Linked DNA regions of Homo sapiens: all the other regions are linked to region 3. Evidence: promoter capture Hi-C in human tissues and cell types (Jung and others, 2019). All regions are on one chromosome and are shown on one strand. Each heading gives the region's core, a stretch centred on a gene start or on the middle of the fragment in contact. The rest is flanking DNA. Distances are from core to core; before and after follow the strand shown.

Region 1 (2,700 bases), core at 4-2,503, 300 kb after region 3:
AGAACACCCAATGTTGTTACTATATTTAATGTTTGGAAAATAAGTTCTTAGATTATGTTTTAGACTGAAAAACAAGGTTTCCAGCACACAGATTGAAAATATCACTCACTTATTTATTGTCCTAGATCATCCTGCTATTTCTATGTCAAAGGCTTGATATGAGACTTAGTATCTAAATAGTACTATTTTACCAACCATATCAACTAGCTTGTTTTAAAAGTTGTTTATTTTCTAAGTCATTGATGAGAGCTATAGTCTTGTGTTAAAATTTTTAAAGAGTATACCTCACAAGACACACTCTGTGCTACTAGCCCTTTAAACAAAGTTCATGCCATATGACAGAAATAAATAATGGGTTTGCAAATTACACCATCCAATTGGTCTCCTGCATATTTGGCTTTGTGTCCTTGGAGTGATTTTCAACATCATTAAGTGAAAAGCCCATCATTTCCCAAGTAACAAGGGATGAAGCACATACAGAGATTGACTTGGCGTGTGTTACATAAACTTTCTGTTTTAGATTTGAAGAATTTACATAACACCGAAACAAAACAACACCCTGCAAACATATTTGTACAGTCAGTTAAATTTCTCTACAGTCCCATTCTATAGTCAGCCCTGCCAAGGTTACTCTGGCTGTTAAATTTTATGACATAATTTTTAATACAGTAATATTTTTCACTTAATTTTTTAAATTTATTGATGGTACTTAGAATTTTTGTCCTGCATAATAGATGCCTATCTGAAACTTGGGAAGACAGAAAATTATTTAACATATTAGAAACTATTTGTACAATTGTTCTGATAATCAGTAAGTTTTGAAATAGCTACAACTCTCCTAGTCCAAAATTAATTTCAATAAAATTATATGAAGGCATTATTTCCATATGTGAATCTTACTTTTTTATATATACCATATTATATAGGCTGCTATATATAGAAATATATGTATATATATGCATATATATGTACATACATACATACATAAACATATATGTGTGTATATATACATATTCATAACTTTTTCCTTGGAGTTACTCGAATATTTGACACTCAATCCAACAAAAAATATATTTAAATAAAATTTTGAATTATATATTTTGTTACTGGAATATTGAAGGATGCCTCGACCTGTATTGACCTATTTGAAGTCTCTCCCTGTATTGACGTATCTGAAGTAATATAAAATTAGGTATTTTTTATTTCAGACTAGTATTTTAAAGTCAAATGCACCATTCCTAATATGGTGACACTTTAAGCTTTAGTAATTGAAATAACAAAAAAATCATCAGGAAGATTGTGTACCCTGTGGGAAGGAAAAATGGAACACATTGTCAAATGCTTGAGGGTATTTCCTCCTTCTGCTTTATGCAGATCAATTTCTCCCTTGCAAAATTATTTTTAAAACAAATAGTTGAAATATACCAAATATACTAAGGGCCTTTCCTTTCCAGAGCTGACAGGCCAGAGAAGTCAAGACAAAACCTAATCAGCCACAAAAACCTCAAAGTGGGCCAGAGGGAGAATGTGGTCACACTTCTTCCCTTGCTTATTTGGACACCAGTGAACACACAAGGCACTTAGATTGATACTACTTTTTGCAGACTCATAGCAAAGACAATAGGGCTGCCTGTGACAATAATCCAGAACAGATGATCATTTCTTGGCATACAGTTAGCACAGGAGGGCCCTGCCTGAGGTACCAGCCTTGTTTTATGTCATGTAAATTCTGACTTACGCATAGCACAAATTACTAACATAAAGCAAATCAGTGCTTTTCATATTTTTTCCTTTGAATCACATCAAAAATTAAAACTATTATCCACAACTGCTCCCACGCGTTTTCACAGATCAGCTCCTCCAGAGCTATGGCATTTGCCCCTTTGCACTCGGAACAGCTAATCTTATCATTTAGTCCTTCAGTATGAGAAAGATATGCAACTGGCCTGAACACTGTTGGTGGATATGGTGAGATACAGCCACAGAGGCAGAGTACCAGATGTGGCCCTTTTTTTTTTTTTTTTTTCCAGTAAGATCTTATGGGGTATAACTTCCCTTCACCTCTTTCTGCCTGGCTTGTGCTTGTGGGTGGCCTTTGTTTCTATGGTTGAAAGCTAAGGGATGGTGGGATCCAACTGTATCACATCTGATTCAAGTTGGCATTTGTGGCAGTAACAACATTCTAGATGGTTCAGCTTCCCACAAGCTATTCTTAGTGAATTTCCAAAGGTTAGTGAAAAAACAAACAACTCTCCTTCTCTTTTTTCTCCTCTGATGCCAGGGAAACTCACAACAAGTCAAAAGAGCTTACTTTAGAGTCTGGATCAGTTTCCAAACAACCTGGAGGGTTCATCAGGGATTCTATGCTGTACTTTTTAAACCATTTATTTGGAAAGTTTGCTAAAATCTACTATCACTGGAAATCTGAGTCTCAGCCCCTCAGCCCACTAAACTGTACTCACATATAGAGTAGAAGGTTGGGTACATATCTATATAATGAAATGTGTTGGTATCAAAAGAATATAATATAATGAAAGTATTCTAATTTCCTATAAACATCCTAGAAAATTTTTTCTAAAACATACTTTCCTTCGTTATGTTCAAAAGCACTCTTTGATTTTGTAAACATTTGTTACCCAGGTTATAAAGAGCAGAAAATGTTTGTCAAGACAGTTTATTAGCTAACTTGAAATAGTTGAA
Region 2 (2,700 bases), core at 1-2,500, 400 kb after region 3:
GAACACACGTGTTCCCTAAGATAAAAATTTTATAATACTCTTTGCTAATTTTTGCAACATGGCAAAATTAAGGTAGTTTAGACATATCTGTAAGATCATGAGAAATGTTCTAGGTGTATTGCTTTCTGATGACAAAAATGAGAAAACCTAGGAAAACACAGAGTTGACAGATCCTAGATGATTTTCTTTTAATACATTATGTCTCAAATAGAATTTCAGGAAGTCCTGGTTCGTATTCAATTCAGGTTTACATATTCTGACATGAGATCCATGTGCTTAAATATGAGGCTGTCAGAAGGCAGAATTATATCTATTGTATGTGGTTTGGCACTTGACAAATTACTGGTCCTGGGAGCCGTCCCACTTCCATATGAGGCTGACCACAGGCTGCTTGAAAATAAAATATTTTCTCAAAAAGGATCTTTTTAAAATATTTGAACTCTGGCAAACAACAATTGTGAGCCTCACATTCTGATTTATATAAGGAATAATAAATTATGGCTTGAAAAACGTTAGGACATTTTGTATCAACAATTTTTGCAGATAATATATTCAAATTCTTAAGCAAATCAAAACAAAGAACTCTTAGCATTTGTGAGCTCAGTGCTGAGCTAGTGGGCATGTGGAAAGTTCAGTGTATATGATCTGCCTTCAAGAAACTTCGAAATTCTAAATTGTGTTCTCAGACATCTGGCTCCTGCAATCTTTTGACTAGAAAGTATACCTCTTCTGAAAGAAGGTTTACTTTGAATGTATACTGTATTTTAAAAAGAGAGCAGCCTGTAATCTCAGCACTTTGGGAGACCAAGGCAAGTGGATCACCTGAGGTCAGGAGTTTGAGATGAGCCTGGCCAACATGGTGAAACCCTGTCTCTACTAAAAATACAAAAATTAGCCGGGCATGCTGGTGCGCATCTGTAGTCCCAGCTACTTGGGAGGCTGAGGCAGGAGAATGACTTGAACCTGGGAGGCGGAGGTTGCAATGAGCCGAGTTTGGGCCACTGCACTCCAGTCTGGGAAACTGAGCAAGACTCCATCTCAAAAAAAAAAAAGAGCAAATCCAGTCAGCAAGCTAACTAATCAGATGTTTCAAAATAGCCAAATAAGTTGCTCCTTAATGTTATTTTGGAATTTTATTTAATTCCTATGTAATTTAATTGTACACCCAAACTATGTTTCTTTCAGTACATTTCTGAAATCAGTTATGATAATTTTATGATTTTTTTTCACAAGTTAATTTTAATTTTCCAAGTCCCTATAAAGTCTCGAACTGTTTTGGCTTGATTGTCATCTTTTAAATTACTTTATATAGATACATACTGCAAACTAAAACTGAACTGCCATATGATTGAACTTTTCTCCTACCTGGAAATGCCCCCTGACCAAAAACATTGTCCTATCAGTGTGCTTGTATATAACTAAAAGGTCCATTACATACCAGTACTTAAAAAAAAAATTTCCATGAACCCAGGGATGAAATGCTTTCTCCAAAGCTCTCATGTTCTAACATTAAAGGAAAAGAAACTGGACTAATTTGCTATTGTTCACACAGTGCTTTTTTTTTTTTTTTTTTTTTGAGACGGAGTCTCGCTCTGTCGCCCAGGCTGGAGTGCAGTGGCGCGATCTCGGCTCACTGCAAGCTCCGCCTCCCGGGTTCACGCCATTCTCCTGCCTCAGCCTCCCAAGTAGCTGGGACTACAGGCGCCCGCCACTACGCCTGGCTAATTTTTTGTATTTTTAGTAGAGACGGGGTTTCACCGTTTTAGCCGGGATGGTCTCGATCTCCTGACCTCGTGATCCGCCCGCCTCGGCCTCCCAAAGTGCTGGGATTACAGGCGTGAGCCACCGCGCCCGGCCACAGTGCTTCTTAAAAAAGAAGAATGTGAGCTTCTAAATGCTATAGGTAGGAGGCCCCACTACAAAGCCCTCTCTAGATGTGGCAAATGGAATTTCCATGGCCCAACTGCCTTCATTCACACTGTTACTACCATAGTCACTTCCTACCAGTAGAAAGATAGTGTTACCTTATTTGTTGCTAAAAGTTCTCATAAGCTCATTTATATGCATATTTCAATTCAACATAAAAACACAAACAATAAAAACATAAAGACAGCAATCTGCATTGCACTCCTAAATCTGTTCTTCTTTTCTAGAGTGTATTAAAAATTTGAGTGGGATTAAAATGTAAAGATTATTTATCCCATTGTCTTTCAAATAAGGAAATTTAAACTAACAAATATTGTAACTTGCCCAAGATTAAAACCAGAAATAGATTAAAATGCATTTGTTAAATTAATAAAAAAGCAAGGTGATGTGTATTCGCCAGATTGTTCACTTTTCCTGATATTTAAATATTGTGAACTTCAAAGTACATTTCTTTGACACTTTTCAAAATATAATAGTTTTTCCAAGAGGTTACTAATACATTAGACTATCTGACATCCTGCCTCCCTCCTCCTCCCTCCCTCCCTCCCTTCTTCCAACAATGAGCTGTGAAAATATCGCAGGCACTGCATTTGTCACTAGAAATTAACCAAAAAAGGCAGGGGGTAAGAAATATTTTGGGCCTCAAAAAGAGAGCAGGCAGATATCCAAAGTGCTAAGATTTTCTGCACTAAAAGGTAAAGTTGCAATTAATTTTCTCTATCACACAAATTTTATAGGTTCTTCGATTCAAAAGGAAATTATACATCAAGGTAG
Region 3 (2,700 bases), core at 45-2,544:
TTCAAGTGAACTCTGAAAGCTCTGGAGCCTGGTTACTAAAGTCCCTGACACTTTTTTTCTAAAGTCGCTCACAGCGCCTGGTGCTCTGCAGACTATGAACACTCCAGGAAAGTAAGGCTGGGTTGACTGATCACCAGTGTCCCAGAATCTGTTTGGAGTCCCATGAATCAGCTGGGGAAAGAAACGAGCATTTCCCGACCAAAATGAACTCATACTCTCCAGAGCCCCGCTGACTGGGCAGGGTTCAAGACCCCTTGGTTGCCCCAGAGGAAACCAGTCTGAAATAGATTTCGGGATCTCTCACTGGGCACCTCTCCGGGCCCTTCACTCGTGTAACTTGCTTGCCTCTCTAGTAACAACTTTCTATTTAAAAAGAAGAAGATTTTTCTCCAAAGCAGCGTGCACTGAGCTCAGTAACTTTGGATCCCACGTACACAAGCTTAAAGCACACACACTTTCCCCCGCGCAGGTTCTCGGGTCCGCCGCAGACCCTAACGCAAACTCTCGGGTTCTCCGCAAACCCTAACGCAGACCTACCGTGGCCTCGCCCGCGTCGGGCTCCGCGTCCGAGAGGTCGAGTCCGGACTCGAAGGCGGCGGCGGCGGCGGGCGCCTCGCGAGGACCCGGGAGCAGCGCAGCGGCGAGCAGAGAACACGCCACAGAGAAGAAGCCCAGCAAGTGCATGGTGGAAGGACCGGGGGTGGGGGACCGGTCCGCTGGCGGGGGCAGGGGTGGGGGCGCGGGCGCCCCTGCGAGGCCGCGGGCCCCTCCTGGTCCCTCTCCCCCGGGCTCCTCCCGGCGACCCCCCCTGGGCGAGCCGGAGGCGGCGGGAGCGGGTCCGGGGCTCCGCGTTCCCAACTTTGCAGGGCGCCCTCCCAGCCAGTGCCGGGGAAAGGCGGCGGGTGTCAGGTAAAAGCCTCACAGGAAACCGGACATCCGAGCTCCCCGCATTCGGAGCCCGCGAGGTGAAGCGAGGGCGAGGGAGGACGCCGCCGCGGTCCGCGTCGGTGTAGCTTTTTGGAGAGGCGGGGCGGGGGACACCAGAACACCCCGCGATGTTCAGCCCCTCCAAACCCGCCAGAGCCCTCGTCCCCCTCCTCCCTCCCCTTCCCCGAAGTGAGAGGAGCCGGGCCGCGGGCGCTGCGGCGGGGGCGCTGGCGGCGGTGCCGGGGGCGGGAGGAGGGCGGCGGGGCGGCTGGCGGCGGCGGGGCCCGGGAGCGCCGCGGCGCAGGATCCTCCAGAGCGCGCCGGGCTGAGCGGCGGCGGCGGCGGCGGCGGGCGCAGGGGCAGGGCATGACTGACGCGCCCTCTGCCTGCGCTTATGTGAGAGAAAGCGGCCGAGGGAGGGAGCGTGCCGAGCCCGGGCTGCCCTCCCCTCTCACTCTCCCTCGGAAGCCGTCTCCCTGGAGCTCCCCGTTTCCCTCGCCTCCTCCCCGGCGGCCCCACCTCCCCCGGCCCCCCTCTGGATCTCTCCCTCCCCGCCCCTGTCCCCTGCGGGGAGCGGGCGGCCGGAGGGGCAAGTTCAGTCCCGGGGCTGGCGGTTGGCGGGACCGGCTTTAGAGGTGATGCGACCACCCTGGACCACGTGCAGCGGGGAGAAACTGGGCACCGTGGGGTGGAGGGAGCCCCCGCTTTATCCTCGGCCACTCCCGAGTTCTTGTCCTCCCTCCCGCACGCCTGGCCCCCAGAGCCCTGCTCAAAGTTTGGAAATGTCCTGGGGGTTGTAAAAGTTCCAAGAAAAGGTCATCACTATGTCAGAGAACCCTATGGGACCTCGGAGGGGTCCCCTCTCTCCCTTGGTCTGTGTAGTTGAAAGTTGCCTGATGATCCAAGAACCGCAGTTCTCAGGATGCAGTGCAGGCTGTTGGGATGGATGCTAATGATCCCTTTGGAATCCTAAACTTCTGACAGGTGAAGAGAAGGGCCAGAATCTTCGTGGAGAGTAAAGAGACACATTGTCAGCTTCTGCAAGAAGTTGGTTTACTTGAAAAAGGGGGTGATAAAGAGAGATGTGTGTGAGACATATTCCAGAAAGGATGTGTAGCATCCAAAGAAAAGTGACTGCATTTCCCCATTGGAAAAGCACTGGGGTTTCCGTTGGGCTGGTGGCATTGGCTAGCTGCCTCCTTGGGGCAGGGTGAGCAGGTTACAGAGGACCACGCTAAGGGGTTTCAACAGTGTACAGAACATCAAAAGTCTGCCTTTCACTCCCAATCTACTTTTAAGTACACAGATGTTATAGGTCCATAATATCTTACCGGAAGAAGAGACTTTCTTATCTGGTTCAACTCTAGATTTGAAACTCCTCACCCATAATTTACTTGAAGGCTTAAATATCTCAAAGGACAGGGAACCTTCCATTCTGTGTGGCTGTTCACTCCCTTTATTGATGAGCAACACTGCTGAAAAGCATTTCCTTCTATCTCTCTATTGCTTTTGACTCCTGGAGTTTTACACAATAAATCTAATCTCACTTCCACAACTGAGTCCTTCAAATATTTTGAAAATATTTATCATGGTCTCCCTAAGCTAACTTTACTCCTGGCTAAATATCCCTTTTATTCCCCAAGATGACAGTTCCAGTTTCCCCCCTTAACCATACTGTTAGCTTTCCATGTTCATGAAGTATGCGGTTGAGAACATGGCTCGGTACTTAGTGCTGTAATGAGCATGCAGAATGGACAGTATGCCTTTGTTGAT

The links. Contacts are between HindIII fragments. The study calls those that stand out against the background at their distance.
Region 1: a fragment that was not itself captured here is called in contact with the fragment with the promoter of VEGFC in region 3 in 1 of the 25 tissues and cell types used here (hippocampus).
Region 2: a contact is called between a fragment that was not itself captured here and the fragment with the promoter of VEGFC in region 3, in 2 of the 25 tissues and cell types used here (IMR-90 fibroblasts and mesenchymal stem cells).

The regions. Positions count from the first base shown.
Region 1 is chr4:177,092,578-177,095,277 of GRCh38, forward strand. No RefSeq gene overlaps it. Among named protein-coding and RNA genes, the nearest start is that of NEIL3, 220 kb to the right of the region's middle. The HindIII fragment of the contact is 3,421 bases long and covers 1-2,700 here.
Region 2 is chr4:177,186,955-177,189,654 of GRCh38, forward strand. No RefSeq gene overlaps it. Among named protein-coding and RNA genes, the nearest start is that of NEIL3, 120 kb to the right of the region's middle. The HindIII fragment of the contact is 5,629 bases long and covers 1-2,700 here.
Region 3 is chr4:176,791,628-176,794,327 of GRCh38, forward strand. It overlaps VEGFC (vascular endothelial growth factor C), which reads right to left and starts at 1,295. Exons shown (of 7, transcript NM_005429.5): 1 at 538-1,295. The coding sequence starts at 684. The HindIII fragment of the contact is 7,489 bases long and covers 1-2,700 here.